Linked DNA regions of Homo sapiens: regions 2, 3 and 4 are each linked to region 1. Evidence: promoter capture Hi-C in 16 types of primary human blood cells and fetal thymus (Javierre and others, 2016). All regions are on one chromosome and are shown on one strand. The core of a region is centred on a gene start or on the middle of the fragment in contact, and the rest is flanking DNA. Distances in the headings are between cores, read along the strand shown. Region 1 holds the start of SAMM50 (SAMM50 sorting and assembly machinery component). Region 2 has its middle 22 kb from the start of LINC00207. Region 3 holds the start of LINC00207 (long intergenic non-protein coding RNA 207). Region 4 has its middle 2.8 kb from the start of RTL6.

What was found. The method cuts DNA at HindIII sites, captures the fragments that hold promoters and counts their contacts. A CHiCAGO score of 5 or more calls a contact.
Region 2: a fragment that was not itself captured here is called in contact with the fragment with the promoter of SAMM50 in region 1 in 1 of 17 cell types (endothelial precursors); the score reaches 5.5 in endothelial precursors.
Region 3: a contact is called between the fragment with the promoter of LINC00207 here and the fragment with the promoter of SAMM50 in region 1, in 2 of 17 cell types (endothelial precursors and monocytes). The highest score is 6.6, in endothelial precursors.
Region 4: a fragment that was not itself captured here is called in contact with the fragment with the promoter of SAMM50 in region 1 in 5 of 17 cell types (total B cells, naive B cells, naive CD4 T cells and 2 more); the score reaches 8.5 in total B cells.

Annotation. Positions count from the first base shown.
Region 1 is chr22:43,953,641-43,957,747 of GRCh38, forward strand. It overlaps SAMM50 (SAMM50 sorting and assembly machinery component), which reads left to right and starts at 1,802. Exons shown (of 15, transcript NM_015380.5): 1 at 1,802-1,958. The coding sequence starts at 1,938. It also overlaps the pseudogene RPL35AP36. RefSeq lists enhancers at 1,027-1,779, 1,447-1,496, 1,577-1,656, 1,780-2,531, 2,337-2,546 and a silencer at 1,620-1,894. The HindIII fragment of the contact is 6,277 bases long and covers 953-4,107 here.
Region 2 is chr22:44,589,017-44,593,123 of GRCh38, forward strand. No RefSeq gene overlaps it. Among named protein-coding and RNA genes, the nearest start is that of LINC00207, 22 kb to the left of the region's middle. RefSeq lists an enhancer at 3,411-3,912. The HindIII fragment of the contact is 3,971 bases long and covers 1-3,789 here.
Region 3 is chr22:44,567,467-44,571,573 of GRCh38, forward strand. LINC00207 (long intergenic non-protein coding RNA 207) reads left to right here and starts at 1,874. Exons shown (of 4, transcript NR_028411.1): 1 at 1,874-1,975; 2 at 3,034-3,122; 3 at 3,910-4,026. It also overlaps the pseudogene KRT18P23. The HindIII fragment of the contact is 7,812 bases long and covers 1-4,107 here.
Region 4 is chr22:44,499,021-44,503,127 of GRCh38, forward strand. No RefSeq gene overlaps it. Among named protein-coding and RNA genes, the nearest start is that of RTL6, 2.8 kb to the left of the region's middle. The HindIII fragment of the contact is 596 bases long and covers 1,500-2,095 here.

The DNA of each region.
Region 1 (4,107 bases), core at 552-3,051:
TGTGAGACTTCTCAGTCTTTATTATATACATTGTAACCATCACAGACAGCCTTTAATATATACATCTTAACTATCACAGACAGCCTTCAGTATATTATATACATTATAACCATCACAGACAGCCTTCAATATATTATATACATTATAACCATCACAGACAGCCTTTAATATATACATTATAACTATCACAGCCTTTAATATATTATGTACATTGTAACTATCACAGCCTTTAATATATTATATACATTGTAACTACCACCGCCTTTAATATAGTATACCCATTGTAACTATCACAGCCTTTAATATACACATTGTTAACTACCACAGACAGCCTTTAATATATTATATACATTGTAACTATCACAGATAGCCTTTAATATATACATTGTAACTATCGCAGACAGCCCTTTGTTTGAGGGTAAAGCATGTGACTTTGTTTTCCTCCTGTTCCCTCTGCCATCCTCCAGGGCCTCACACACAATAGGCTCTCAAATATTGCAACCATCTTGCACTCTGCAGGGCAACCTCATGGCTTATCCTTTACAAGTGGCATACTCAGAAGAATAACGAGGAAGAAAGTGTAAGAAAAGAGGGCTGTTTGGGCAAAGAAAATCTGGTTGATTCGATGTTTACAGAGTGCCAGGCCCCATGCTTGATCTCATGAGGTCCTCAGACCTTATGCCTTAGGCTATCATTTCCATTTTACAGATAAGGAATTGAGGCTCAGGGAACTGAGAGTGAGGGAAGGGCAGGGGCCTGGCTGGTGCTGGGTTCTGTCTCTTTCCAGGCAAGAAGGGACATGTGGACTTGAATATTTAGCTCAGGGATGTTGGAGGCCTAGGGTGCTGCTATTTAAATGGAAAGGGTGTCAGGGTTTCTGGGAGGGAGTAAGGGGACAGAAGAAAAGATGCTTCTGTTATCAGAAGGGAGTGGCAACGTGACAGGATACTGAAGCTTCCTCTTTTCTTATTCTGTCTCGTTTCTTTCAATATACTTATCACAATGTGTGGCTGATATTTATTATGCCTTTTTCTTTTCTATTCTCTTTTCTTTTTTGGGGCAGGGGAGCTGTTTTGCCACCAAAACCTAAGCCCATGGCCGTCTTCTTCACCGATATGACTGGTTCTCATGCAAGCACCTAGATGGCCCTCGCCCATAATTACTGGCTGCAGTTGAGTGAATAGCGGTCATTATCTAGCGCCCACCGTGTGCCCGGCCCGGTGCCGGGAGCTTTGCTTTCCGTCTCTCACATTAGGCCCTTTTAATCCAACCCCCAAGAAGGAGACACGACCATCGTCTTCATTTTGACGATTTTGAGTGGGGGTTCCAATGACTTGAACGAAAGGAGCCAGGGCACCAATCCGGGTTTGTGTAGCAGATGCCGGTGAGACCCGACTACTGCAGCTCGGGGGTGGCCGGACCCGGGGTCTCCCCGCTGAGTCTCGGGGCTTCACCGGCGCGTGGGCACAAGCACAGCACCCTCGGGTCGGGGGTGCTAGGAGGGCTAAGAGCAGCAGGACTTGAGTGACACCCAACAGCTGGTCTGATCTCTTTCAGGCGCCAACGCCAGACGCCAGCCTCCCAGCGGACCCTCTCGCAGACCCACCTTCACCCCACGCGCCCTCCCCACACAGTCCACGCGCCAGCAGCTTCGCGGATGTCAGTGAACGCTCTTCGCTTGCGCAGTCAGAACGTCCTCCGCGGCCGTGTGAACATCCGGGTCACAGGCGCATAAGGACCAATGAGCGAAGGCATCGCGAGCCAGGGGGCGCGGAGAAGGCGGGGAATCATGGCCGCCCCCAGTGTTCCGCGTCCGGGGGTTTGTGGGAGTTGCCTTGACCTGCAGCTCCGCCACCGCGGACCCGCCTTCTGCCCTCAGCAGCAGACGCTCTGTCCCGCCCGGGCAGCTCTGCGAGGCAGCGGCTGGAGAGGGAACCATGGGGACTGTGCACGCCCGGGTAAGAGGCCCAGCGACCCGCGGGCTGCGAGGCCTCTGGGCCAGCAGGGCAGACGGGCGCCGCGGGGAGACGCTCTCGTGGCTGCGCCCAGGGTTCACCGGGAGAGAGGGTGCCAAGGGTGCCGGGCTGGGTGGAGGAGGCCGAAAAGAGGTCGCCTCGGGCCAGCGAGTCTTGCAGACCTTCGAGCAGGAACCTGATAGGAGGGACGAGACTTGGCTAAAGGTCACTCGGCGAGTCCGTGGCCCAAAGGACTTGCCAACTTTCTGTGATGTCTTAGACCGCAGTGAATGTGCTCTTTCTTTGCATGATTTTAAGTTTTCTCTCTTTACTGGTCACTTCCAGCCTTTCCCCGCTCAGCCGCTGCTGGAGCCATTGTAGGCTCCTAGAGCAACAAGAATCCTTTGAAGTCTTCTAACTCAAACCTATCTAGGGGTCCTCTTTTCTCCTGTCTACCGTGCAAAAGACGGAACCGCTCTCTGCCTTACTTCCTGTTTTAAAGTGGAGGTAGTAATAGTACCTACCTCGCCTGGCTTAAAAGAGAATTAAAAGACAATGCATGTGAATACTTGGGTGCCTGGCGCCTGACTAACTGTACTGGTTGCCAAACTCCTCTCGTTTATCCTAATCTTAAATAAGGGCCAGATAATGAGTTACTTCTCCAAGGTCACATAGTTACTGGTTCCAAATGGCCTAAAACCTCAGATTTCCTGAGTCTCAGCCCCAACACTACTTTTCTACTGCAACTTTGATTGCTTCACTTGACCTGCATAGACGTTTTCAGTAGTTCCCCATTAACTTCCAAAAAAATTTAGCACAGAAGTCGCAGCCTGACATCGATAATTGGACTTAACTTCCCTTTATATGTCTTTCATTCAGATCAAACACCGTTTCTCTTCTGACATCTCTTTGTGTAACTGTAATAGGTCTGTTGCTCAGTGTGCTCGATAAGTCAATACACTCAGACAGTGGGTTGCAGCAGAGAAAGAGTTTCAGTTGCAGGGCCGCTGAACGAGGAGATGGGAAAAGAGAGGAAACCTCAAATCCATCTCCTTCAGGAGTTTGGACCTCATGTTTTTGCTGAAGTGTGGAGATCCTTGATTGGTGGAAGAGTGAAGGGTGAAGTTATGGGACAGGGAGATGAGGAAACTTCTCATGCTGATTCCGTTCCTCTGTTGCGGGGAGGAGTCTTCAAACTGGTTGGCAGCATCAGTTTTGCTGGAATTCGAGATCTGAAAAACATCTAAAGCAACTCTTAAGCAAAAGCCTTATGATTCTAATTTTAGAAATCCTATCTGTAAAATCAATGGGGATGCAAATAGTATCTGTGACTTTTGGTTACTAGCAAGTAGGTCAGAGTGCAACCTGAGCTCTTCCTGCCATCTTGGCTCCTGTGGCGGCCTGCCGGGAGCAGGACTTCTGAAAGGAAATATGTCTGGAAGGCTGTGGTCCAAGGCCATTTTTGCTGGCTATAAGTGGAGTCTCCGGAACCAAAGGGAGCACACAGCTCTTCTTAAAATTGAAGGTGTTTATGCCCGAGATGAAACAGAATTCTATTTGGGCTCATGTATACAAAGCAAAGAACAACATAGTGACTCCTGGCGGCAAATCAAACAAAGCCAGAGTAATCTGGGGAAAGGTAACTCGGGCCCACAGAAACAATGGCATGATTCGTGCCAAATTCTGAAGCAATCTTCCTGCTAAGGCTGTTGGACACAGAATCCGAGTAATGCTGTACCCCTCAAGGATTTAAACTAATGAAAAGTCAATAAATCAATGTGGATTTGTGCTCTTGAAAAAAAAAAGGCAACTTGATTAATGGTTAATTGTAACTACATTTCTTTTGAGATGGAGTCTCACTGTGTTGCCCAGGCTGGAGTGCAATGGTGCAATCTCCACTCACTGCAACCTCCGCCTCCCAGGTTCAAGCGATTCTCCTGCCTCAGCCTCCCATGTAGCTGGGATTATAGGCGCACGCCACCACACCCAGCCAATTTTTGTATTTTTAGTAGAGACGGGGGTTTCATCATGTTGGCCAGGCTGGTCTTGAACTCCTGACCTCAAGTGATCATCCCGCCTCGGCCTCCCAAAGTGCTGAGATTACAGGTGTGAGCCACTGCGCCCAGCCAATTATAACTACATTTCTGTCCAG
Region 2 (4,107 bases), core at 554-3,053, 640 kb after region 1:
CAGTGGCACGATCTCAGCTCACTGCAACCTCCACCTCCCAGGTTCAAGCGATTCTCCTGCCTCAGCCTCCCAAGTAGCTGGGACTACGGGCACCCGCCACCACACCTGGCTAATTTTTGCATTTTTAGTGGAGACTGGGTTTTGCCATGTTGGCCAGACTGGTCTCAAACTCCTGATCAGTGATCCGCCTGCCTCAGCCTCCCAAAGTGCTGGGATTACAGGCATAAGCCACAGTGCCCGGCCCATTAGTCATCTTTTATAGTGAAATAACATCTTCAAAAAAGTCTCCCTCTCTCCCTTCATTTGTCCAGAGTGATGTTCAAATGCTATCAGAGATTGTTACTTCTGGAGAGCAGGATGTGCGTACTTTCTGCACCCTCAATATTGTTTTTTTCCTCCCTTATTTGTGTCCTGTTTGCCGAGTGTGGTGGTCACTTGAGTGTCCAGATCTCTTCCCGGGGCACATGATGGGGTCACGCACCTCCTGGTCCCCTTGATGCCAGGCGTGGCCATGTGGCTTTCTTTGGCCTATGCATGTAGAAATGAGATGTGAGAAAATGAGAGCTGTCACTTCAGAGGAGAGGCTTTAAAGTTACCGATATGTGGGGCTGTTTGTTACTGCAACACAACCTACATCCTTCTGACTGATACAATGAGCATGGATCATTTTATAAAAAGCCATAGAGTGTTTTTTTTTCCTAATCAGAAGGAGGAGAGAGGAGGAGGCAGAAAAGGAGGGAAGGAGGGAGGGAAAAAGAAAATTAGAAGCAAATATGCCAAAGTGTTCATGTAATTAATTTTGTGAGGTGGAAACCTGCATCCTTGTTAGTCCTTTGAAGTTTTCATATTTCTTTTCATTAAACATTTTTTTCATGAAATGAAATCAACAGTAATAGCTTGAGAGGCCACTGCCACCTCAGCACAAAGTCCCCATGATAGACACCCAAGTCCACCTGCTGGACCAAGCCTGCCACGCTGACCACCAGCCACAGACCACTTGTGGCATCCGCCAACGCTTGATACAGTCCCAGAGGAGACCCTCGAGTTAGCAGAGAGGTCGGACAGACCTCAGGCCAGACCTTCTGGGCCCTCCAGCCATGCAAGCACTGGCACCAAGGGTCTGCTCCATCTTGCACAGTTAGCCAACCTCACAATGCAAGGGCTACAGCCCCACTTGGCAAATGGCAAAGCTCACATCAGACTGGCCAACTTGTCTGAGGCTATACGGCAAGTAAGGGAGGTCAAATTCAAGCTCCGGGCTGGTCTCTAAGTCTCTCCATCCCTCATGAGGGCAGCCAGCCTCTCGGGATGGATTTAAAGTGTCATGGCTCCAGGGCCGAGAGAGCTTCCAGGCCAGGACCTGAGTGTATTCTGGGTGGTAAAAGGACCACCGGGTAGACCTTGGGGCCGGGCTGCCAAGGCCACCCTGTGAGCGAGGACAGGGGCGGCACTGGCCCAGGGCTGAGGGGCTGCGGGCAAGGCGGCTGGCACCCTGTGGGACACCAGGCATGTCGAGAGGCCCCACGGGAGGGAGGAAAGGGGCCGTTGTATGAAAGCTGGTCACAGAGCTCCTCTTTGGGGAGACTGCCCAGGATTTGCCCACACCCCAGCCCCCTTTACCCACGGCTGGTGAGAGTGTGGCTTTCCCAGAGGCCTGTTCCTAGAGGCTCCCGAGAGGGCCAAAGAGAAGACAACAGCTCAGACCACTGAGTGGGAGACAGGGGCTTTGAGAGAGGGGAATCGAGACCACACAGGGCCCTGGGCTGAGACCCTGGGAGCTGAGGAATTCCTGGTGGTGAGAATTCCTGGACCAGCTCTAAGATCAGCAATGCCGTACCAGGCTGGTGGAGGTAATTGTCCACTCCCCACCACCACGTCCCCCTATCTAGAACCTTCTGCAGAGCCTGAGGCACACCGTGGCCTATGAGAGCGGGTGCTTTAGTGCAATCAAGGGCTGGAAGCAACACTTGGGCCAAGGCAGGTGGAGACGGGAGAAGAAACCTCCAGGGCTGGATTTGAGGAGCTGGAGAGGCGCCTCCGACGCTGGCATCCCAGCAAGAGGAGACCAGGAAAGTCAGGTGTCAGAAAGTCACCAGGAGGCGGGGCCACCAAATTAGACCCAGCTGAGGAGCTGGGACAACAACCCCAGCGCCCAGCCCATCTCACCTCACTACATGCTAACGTGGTGGAGAAGAGAACACCCATAGCACAGATGAGGACACTGAGGCTCAGGGAGAAGCCAGATCTCCCCAAGGTCAACTAGCACTTAGAGTGGGGCCCAGCCCGGACTTCTAGGCCTGGGGAGTGGCAGAAGGGTCCCAGGTGTGGCTGTGACTGCGGGAGCCTCCCTCTGTGAGTGCCAATTCCCTCACCGACTTGGGGTCTCCCAAGAGGCCACCTCACCTGGCCATGCAAGGAGGAAGCAGCAGAGACCTAAACAGTCATACTCCCTCCCGGGCCTGCGGTAAGGACAAGTGAGGACCCATACCCGGGCTGAAGCTGCTCACCCTCAGCAGCGCTGGCGTCCTTGTCTGCCCACAGCTGCCCAACCGCCTCCATGAACTGGGAGGTAAAAGACGCCTCCTTCCGCACCCTGCCGGGCTGTCCTGCCTGTGACCACACTGCTGCCGACCCAAGTCCTCGCAAGGCCCTGCCCCACTCTGCAGCAGGCAGGCCCCCAATTCAGCCCCCTGTCCTTGCCCGGAGACTCTGAGACCCCAGCACCCCCTCCAGGCAACCAACCTCCAAACTGTGGCTGCGGCTCTTTGAGGCCGTATTTGCAGGCAACTTCAGAGCTAAAAATTTCAAGGCAGGTAAAGGGGAGTGGGGGTGCCCCTCCTTTTCCATCCTGCTGTTACGGCCTCCCCCTGGCACCAGGAGGCCCTGCTCACTGCATCTGGGTGTGCAGATGGGATGGAGACGCTGATACAGGGGCAGAAACAAAGCAGCAGGCAGCAGCCAGCACATGGGGAGACACAGGCTCCACAAGCACACACCGTCAGCGCCCCCACTCCCAACTCCACCAATGCAGGGCGTGGGGACACAACCAGGCTGCCCTGTGACCTGTGACCACTGGGAGAGGGCTTGGCCCTCGCAGACGCTGACCCTGAAGGCACAGTGGACCTGCCCACTGCAGCTAGAGGCTAATTTTCAGTTCTCTAAATTGGGGAGAGAAGAGCATGTGTCTCCCAGCCGTGTGGGGAGGACACAGAGGACAACCCAGAGCGGGGCTCTGTTTTCTTCAGGCACTGGGGCTGCTCCCAGAGACAGCCACGTGCAGAGAAGCAGAGATCAGTAGCTCTCAGGTCTCCATTGATGTGGGGAATCTTGACGTTAGTAGCAGGCACTTGGATATGATTTGGGGCAACTTCTCACTCAAATGCACTCTTTTAGAAGAACTTTTCATGCAGAGGCATGGCAGGGGCGGTTTTTTTATACTGAGGTTCTGGGAGTTGTAATGGTATATTTAGGACTCACTTGACCTACCCACCACCCTGAGGTTTGACACCCCTCCCATGCCCCTCCCTTGCCCACACCTGGACACAAGGAGCCCACCTCCAGACTAGGGCCAGCCCAAGCCCCTGTTGGGAAGGGAATTTGCCTCCTCCCGTGGCTGCCCCACCAAGACCAGCTCCATGCTAGAGGCCTCAGACCCGTGGTTCCCCCGCCCAGCAGAGCAGGTCAGCAGTTTGCAGCCATCGCAGCCCTGAGCCTGCTCTCCTCCAGGCTGGCCAGCCCCTCCACCATCACTCAGGGGACACTTAACTCTCAGGCCCCCTCCTATAGCAAAGCTTCCAACCTCCGGCATTTATGGAGAAAATGATTTCCTGATCAAATATTCATGGGCCTGCCAAGCTTAAAATAGGTCTAAAAGGAAGGAGGGCAATTTTTGTCCAGCACAAATGCTTGATGAGGTGACGTGAAACCACGGGGCTGGCTTCTCCGTGCTGTCCCTCTGCCCATCCCCCACACCACCAAAGGCCCCGAGACACTGAGCAGGGTGGGCCTCACAAGCATGTGATCTGTGCAGCTACCCAGGGCCTGTGCAGTGCTTAGCCTTCTGTGGTTTGTGACCATTCTTTTTGTTTCTTTGTTTTGAGACAGGGT
Region 3 (4,107 bases), core at 624-3,123, 610 kb after region 1:
ACAGAGCTGGCCATGTGCCAGTCTGTGGAGAGCAACATCCATGGACTCTGTAAGGTCAATGATGACACCAACGTCACTCGGCTGCAGCTGGAGACAGAGATCAAGGCTCTCAAGGAGGAGCTGCTCTTCATGAAGAAGAACCACGAAGAGGAAGTAAAAGGCCTACAAGCCCAGATTGCTAGCTCTGGGTTGACCATGGAGGTAGATCCCCAAATCTCAGCACCTCGCCAAGATCATGGCAGCCATCCGGGCCCAATATGACGAGCTGGCTTGGAAGAACGGAGAGGAGCTGGACAAGTACTTGTCTCAGCAGATTGAGGAGAGCACCACAGTGGTCACCACGCAGTCTGCCAAGGCTGGAGCTGCTGAGATGACGCTCACAGAGCTGAGATGTACAGTCCAGTCCTTGGAGATCAACCTGAACTCCATGAGAAATCTGAAAGCCAGTTTGGAGAACAGCGTGAGGGAGGTGAAGGCCTGCTACACCTTGCAGATGGAGCAGCTCAACGGGATCCTGCTGCACCTGGGGTCAGAGCTGGCACAGACCCAGGCAAAGGGACAGTGCCAGGCCCAGGAGTATGAGGCCCTGCTGAACATCAAGGTCAAGCTGGAGGCTGAGATCGCCACCTACTGCCACCTGCTGGAAGATGGCAAGGACTTCAATCTTGGAGATGCCCTGGACAGCAGCAACTCCATGCAAACCATTCCAAAGACCACCACCCACCAGAGAGTGGATGGCAAAGTGGTGTCTGAGACCAACGACACCAAAGTTCTGAGACATTAAGGCAGCAGAAGCAGGGTACCCTTTAGAGAGCAGGAGGCCAATAAAAAGTTCAGAGGTTAAAAAAAATAAAAGAACTCTTACAACTCAATAATTTTAAAAATCCGGCTGGGCGGGGTGGCTCACGCCTGTAATCCCAGCACTTTGGGAGCCTGAGGAGGGCGGATCACCTGAGGTCAGGAGTTCTAGACCAGCCTGGCCAACATAGTGAAATCCCCTCTGTACTAAAAATACAAAAATCTAGCTGGGCGTGGTGGTGCATGCTTGTAATCCCAGCTATTCAGGAGGCTGAGGCAGAAGAATCACTTGAACCTGGGAGGTGGGGGTTGCAGTGAGCAAAGATCACGCCATTGCACTCCAGCCTGGGTGACAAGAGCAAAACTCTGTCTGGAAAAAAAAAAAAAAATTAAAAGTTCCCAAAAATGGGACAAAGATTTAAACAAACACTTCACCAAAAAAGATACATAAATGGCAAATAAGTACATAAAAATCATCTTCAACACCATTAGTCATTGGGGGAGGGGAGTACACATTTTAGTCACAGCAAGATACCACTACATATCCACCAGAATGGCTAAAATTTAAAGACCCTAACAAGTGTTGACAAAGATACGGAGCAACTAGAATGCATACATTGTTGGTAAGAATGTGAAATGGTACAATTGCTTTAAAAATCAATATGGCAATTTCCCGTAAAGTTAAACAAAATTGCTGTGACCAAACAATTCTATGTCTAGTTATTTATTCAATTAAAAAAAAAAGCAAGCACATGTCCACATAAAAACTTGTACAAGAATGTTCATAGCACTTTTATTTGTGATAGCCAAGAACTATTAAGAACTCAAATGTCCGTCAAGAGGAGAGTGGATAAATATTCCATTCTAAACCATGGAAGATCATTTAACCACAGAAAGGAGCAAACCCCTGAGGCCTGCAATACATGGATGACTCTCAAAAACATTCTACTAGGTGACAAAGCCTGATATAGAAGAGTATGTGCTGTGTGATGTCATCTATATGAACTTCTAGAACAGACAGGGCTCCTCTATGCTGATAGAAATCGGAACAGCACGGCCTGCAGGGGATGGGGAGGACAGGCGATGGAGACGGGGATCAGATGGGAGGGTGACCTGGTGAGAGATTTTCCAGCTGGCAGAAATGTCCTCTACCTTGAGGGAGGCGTGTGACATGGGAGTAAGTTTGCCAAAATTCATCAAACTGTGCTAAGATCTGTGCACTTCACTGAATATAAACGTCATTTAAATGTCTACTTCATTTAAAAAACAAAGAAGCTGATTGGAAGTGCTGAGCCCTTGGGTAGCGTTTTCTGACTGCGGTCTCCACTGCAGGTGATCTGGCGGATTGCTTCCCCGGGGGGTCACTGGGGGTCAGAGTGTGAGGATTTCCACTAGGAAGGTCAGTGGAACTGACCCCAACCAAAATGATCCCCCAGCTCCCCCCTGCTGCACGTGAGGCCTGGCTGCCGGTTTTCCGGGGGCTGCAAGGAGAAAGAGGCGGGGGTCTCCAATACTCAGTACATGCCCTGCTTTTGGAGTGGCATCCCCCAGTCCAGAGGCCTCTGCCAGACCCTTTCTTGATAATAAATCTTGGGGTTTCTGCCAGGCTCAGGGAGGGGCAATCTCCCAGTTGTGTAAGCAGTGGGAGTGGATAGCTGTCTCTGTCTCTGTCCCTCCCGTGAGAGGAAGACTAACTGCTGTTGTTTGAAACAATCCTCCTTCACTCCCCTCCAGAAATATCTGGCATCTCCATCCTCCCAGCCCATTGTTGCTTCTCATCTTTGCATGCTGCTGGCCGGCCATGTTTCAGCTTCTCAAGCTCACCTAGTGGGTTACGGCTCATCCACCAGGTTTCCAGTCTCCAAAATGTTGGTGCTTGGGCCTCCTCCCCTTTTCTCTTTCTGCTTGAGGGTAATGTCCGTAAAGTGATCTTTACCATCATTTTAGTGAGGGTTCAAGAAGAGGCAAATGTACATGTGTGCATCTGTGCCACCATCTTTGTCAGAAAGTCCAGTCTTTGCACCTTTTATCCTCATGGTTGCAATGTGGCTGCTCCTGCTCTGGGCATCAGATCCACATTCCAGGCAGGAAGAAGGGTGTGTGCCCCTGAGACCATCCCCTTTTATGGGAAATTAAACTGGCAGACTTCCTCTTATGTCCATGGCCACTCCTAGCTGCAAGGGAACCTGGTAACACCTATTTTTAAGGGGGCAAACTTTCACTCCAACAAAACAGGTTCTGTTTAAAGAGGAGAATGGATGGTTACACATCCTGCTTGGGATCCAATCACTGAACCAGAGGGGAACACCGTGCATGATGGGCTGGTAAGGCGTGGGGGTCAGTACAGCATGACACAGAAGGTGAGCTGGCTCCTTGAGGGAAAAACAAAGTGCTGGCCCCAGAGGCAAGGAAGGGTTGCTGGCGGGCAGAGAGGACGCTGTCCGGAGCCCACAGTAGATTCTCCTTGATCATTCACTCCCAGTTCCCTTCCTGCTCCTAGTTCAGTCCCTGACTCCTCTTCTCAGTGCTGTCACTGTCCCTGTCCTGGGACCAGGGTAGGGGATGGGAGGAGAGGTCTGCACGTTGCTGAGCCTTGTGGAAAGGTGACCGTGGACCTCTGGGAGGATGATCTCATCACTTTCTGAAGGAGGCGTCGAGCTGAGATGCTAACAATAGCCAAGCACGATGCCGGCCTGATTGGAGAGGCTAAAAAAAGCAGCTCATTCCAAAGCCTCATCAGGGAAGAAAAGGGCCACGAAGGCAGGTTTGCAGGGCTTTAGGGAGGAGGGGGAGAGGGATGCAGAGGGATGAACTGAGTGGCCTGAGTCTCAGCACAGCTGTGGCCATGGGCTGCCTCCATGTCCAGGAACACCAGGTCTGCCATGCACCACCCACCTGCCCCCATGTTTGCACAGGGCACCGGGGAAGACCTTCAGCCCTACTGGGCTACCCCTTGAGTACCCTCTCCTCCCACATTGGAAGGTCTTCTGCTTCCTGGAGCTTGGCCTGCCTCGGGAGGAGGAGAAAATGGTCCATGTCCCCAGAGAGCCCATGATGTGCCGGCCTAGGTGAGCACTCTTCGCACCTCATGCCATGGAACTTTTGCCACAGCCCTACCCACTTTACGGATGAGGAAATGGAGGCTCGGGAGATGAAGCTGGCAGACTTCCTCTGGAACTTCCTCTGGACATCTGGAGGGACGTCCTGTCAGCAGAGCAGGCTGGACTGGTGAGTTTCCTGCTGCTGGGAGTCCTGGCTAATGTGTTCAGCCCCCACTGACCTCTCTGTGCCCTTGATGTTTTTGAGCCT
Region 4 (4,107 bases), core at 548-3,047, 550 kb after region 1:
TATATGTAACGTAGAGATAGTAATATTTCTGTACTTCCATCCAGTCATTTTTCTATGATATGTTCTACAAAATATTTTTTACCTTATGAATATTTTGTAACCATAACAGCACATTGAATTTTGAGCATTTTCCTATTAAAGATAGTTCAGAAGCATGATTTTCAGTTATTGCCTGTGGTCCATGGAACTCCTGTACCGCAAAGTATTTAGCCATGCCCTTTTTGATAGATCCTTATCTTGTTTACCATGCTAAAGTTTTATAAACTACACTTGTATATAAATCCCCACCCTTTTCTCTGCTGGGTTCCCCAGAGTAAATACCAAGGAGTGAAGATACCTGGCTGATATGGTTTGGCTGTGTCTCCACCCAAATCTCATCTTGAGTCGTAACTCCCACAATTCCCACATCGTGGGAGGAACCTGGTGGAAGGTGATCGAATTATGTGGGCAGGTCTTTTCTGCACTCTTCTTGTGATAGTGAGTGAGTCTCAAGAGATCTGATGGTTTTAAAAAGGGAAGTTTCCGGCCGGGCACAATGGCTCACGTCTGTACTCCCAGCACTTTGGGAGGCCAAGGCGGGTGGATCACGAGGTCAGGAGATCGAGACCATCCTGGCTAACATGGTGAAACCCCGTCTCTACTAAAAATACAAAAAATTAGCCAGGCGTGGTGGTGGGCGCCTGTAGTCCCAGCTACTTGGGAGGCTGAGCCAGGAGAATGGCGTGAACCCAGGAGGCGGAGCTTGCAGTGAGCAGACATTGCACCACTGTACTCCAGCCTGGGCAACAGAGCAAAAGTCCATCTCAAAAAAAAATTAAAAAAAAAAAAAAGGGAAGTTTCCCTGCACAAGTTCTCTCTTTGCCTGCCGCCATCCATGTAAGACCTGACTTGCTCCTCCGTGCCTTTCACCTTCTGCCGTCATTGTGAGCCTCCCCACCACACAGAACTGTAAGTCCAATAAACCTCTTTCTTTTGTAAATTGCCCAGTCTCAGGTATGTCTTTATCAGCAGCGTGAAAACAGACTAATACACTGGCCAAAGGGTAAGAACTGTTTGATTCCGGGTCTGGATTCCCAGCTTGACCTAGGTGATCCTTCTGCATGGTCAGTTTCAAGCTGGCATGGCTGGAGAGAAAAGATACTGAGAAATAAAAATAAAAATTTAAGCCCCCCCCCCCCAACCAACTGAACAGACCCCCTCTTGGCCAGGGGACCCCAGAGAAACCTGGGAAGCCGAGTTCCTGGCCATGATGGGATGGGAGGTTGGACACACTTCATTATCTGCCCCCGCTCCATAACCGATAACCACCATTAGGCTTTTTTCCTTAAGAGTTAAACAGAAACAAGCCTCTTTGAAAGACTTCAACATTGATACCAACCAACCATCTGACACTGCCCCTCCCTTTTTGTGGCACACAACAACTGACCAGCATTCTTTCCTAGTAAGAGACCACCAACCCTGGAGTGGTTCTGGCCAGCCTGTGGAGGATGTGCAGTGAAAGCTTTTGTGTCCTCTGATACACCTTTTGACATTAGAGGGCTGAAAACTCCACCTTCAGATCACGCTAACACTGCCATTTTTTGTAGGTGCTACCCATGAAGGGGGATGAAGCTCAGTTGCACATGTGCATATTTCTCTTCTCATAAATATTTATAACTCCTCCTGTAGCTTATTGAATATGTATATTTGGCCACCCTGATCAACATAAATTCCTGTCTTACTCTTCCAACCCTTGAAGTGCCTGTTTATGGCTTCTGGCCAGAGGCTACACTTCCCAGCCTATTCAAATGGCCACTCTGCAGGGTGCAACCTTTTATGATAAATAAAACTCTCCTTTCCAGGTTTATGAACCTCGTCATTCTTCAGTTAACAATACCCAGTATGCCAGTCTTTTGAGGACACAGTATTCAAGGAGGCTGAAGCTGGGAACCATCTGCACTCTTTAGGCAGGCCTGGGACAGAGCTGGATTCACTCAGACCTGCAGTTTTCACTCAAGGGAATTAGGGCATAAGGATGTTGTTACTGAGCAAGTGGTCTTGCTGCCTGATGCACACGGAAGCCGATACATATGGCACCAGCTTTTGAGAAAAGAAAAGCTTTATTGCAAAACTGACCAGCAAGGAGAGAGGAGGTGGGCTCAAATCCGTCTCCCTGATTTGAGGTATGGGGCAAGTTTTAAGGGATCAGGTGGCAAGAGAAAGTATTTATCAATGCTGGCTTGCCAGGGTCTGATTGGAGGGCTTCAAATTTGACCATATGTGGTAATGTATATTAAAGTAGATTTTAGCCCCAGACCTTCCAGGCTGATGGACCCCTTTGCTTGTGAATGAGTTCTGGTTTTCAACTTCTGGTCATGTCCCAGTCTTCTTGGTTCTAAGAGGACGAATCATTGGTTCTGGGTGTTGTTGGAGGTCAAAGTTTTTTCTACGGCACATGCCCAGGCTACATGACTTGCAGTTTTGGGCTCTGTTCTACCTAAAAGGCAGCTTGACATTTTGTTACCAACAGGGTAGGCCCAGTTTGGGCTGGTCCCACAACTACAGTGTCAGAACTTGGAAAGGATACTTGTACCCCAGTGTGCCAAAGTGTGCACCCTTTGTGACCAGGTGAAAACTTCTAGAGCATGAAGCAAGAGGGAAATAAAGAAGACTGTGTGTCCTTAAACTTCTTCCATGAGACCTTCTAAATCAGATGGGGGCAGGAGCTGTGTTAACCTTGACTGAGGTCAATGACTTCAAAAGCAGAAATGAGCCTGCAGCCTTCTACCCCTCCAGGTTCTTCTAAACACACAGAGGAATCCCATCCACTCGTGGGAGTCACTCCATCTGTCTCTCTGTCTCTCTGTCTGTCTAGGCCCCTGGATACTGGGCACATTAGTGAAGTGTCTGCTGCAATTCTAAGTGTGGTTGACACCATGAATCTTAAATTCCCAGGTGCATTGAATATAAGATGCACCCCAATTTCAGAAATGATAAAACATTTAAAGAAATAAATAATTTATCTGTATTTCACTTTACTTCCAAGGGGAAATTAGATGGCAGCCCATAAAATAGAGCAAAATAAAAATTAATGGACTTTTAAAAGTAAAAACAGGAGAAGAATATTTGGCTTCTCATCCAGATGAAGCTATGATTCATGCCCTGAGGTGCCTGTCTGGGCTGTGAACACAGAACAATAAAATATGCAAAGAAAATATTGAAAGGATATAAGTGGGCTCCAATCGATAAACAAGATAAACTTCACAATGGTCCAGAAACACAAACTTCTGAGTATTGACGTGGGCCTGCCGGGCTCTGGACCTGAGACATAATAGGGACCCAAGGCTGGGAACACAGCCAGGCTTCCTATTTGAATCCAGGGGATGGAGGAGAGAGGAGTCACCCCTGTGTCAGAAAAAAAGTCTGAAAAATTGGATTCAGTCATTTCATGGGGGTGGGGTGTGACAGTTTATGTGAAAGTGTGGCCCTGGGTCAAAGGAGAACACAGATATAGTCATCTTAATCTCTTGTCCCCTGGTTTAACAAGTAGACCAAGAGGGTCAGGATTCCAAACCACCAACAAAATATATATACACATATATATTATACACATATATGTATATATGTATGTATATGTGTATGTGTGTGTATATATAATATGCATATATGTGTGTGTATATATATATATTTCTTTACCACAGACCAGACATCAAGTGGACCCACCCCAAACTGCTAGATGGGGGAAGGGAGTACCAAGAGAGAAAGAGAGACAAAGTCTTTCAACACAAAATGAGTCTGAGATTCAAAATTCTGAAGCCCATGAAGACATCTTATGCTAAGAATAATAGTCAAGAAAAATCAATAACTGTAAGGTGAATTAACTCCAGAGGAAATTAAAATAATAGAAGAGTCTGAAAAAAACAGACTTTAAAGTAAGTATATTTGGGATGCTCAGTGAGAACAAGGAAGGAATAATATTTGTGAAAAGAACAGATTGTGGAGAAAAAGCCATATTGTACCAAGATCAGGTACCTGTGAAAAAGTACCTTTTAAAAGAAAATGTAGTTGATTTCCATTTCCAGTGAGATGGAGTAGATGCACTCATGCCTATTCTTTGCAGAAAACGTA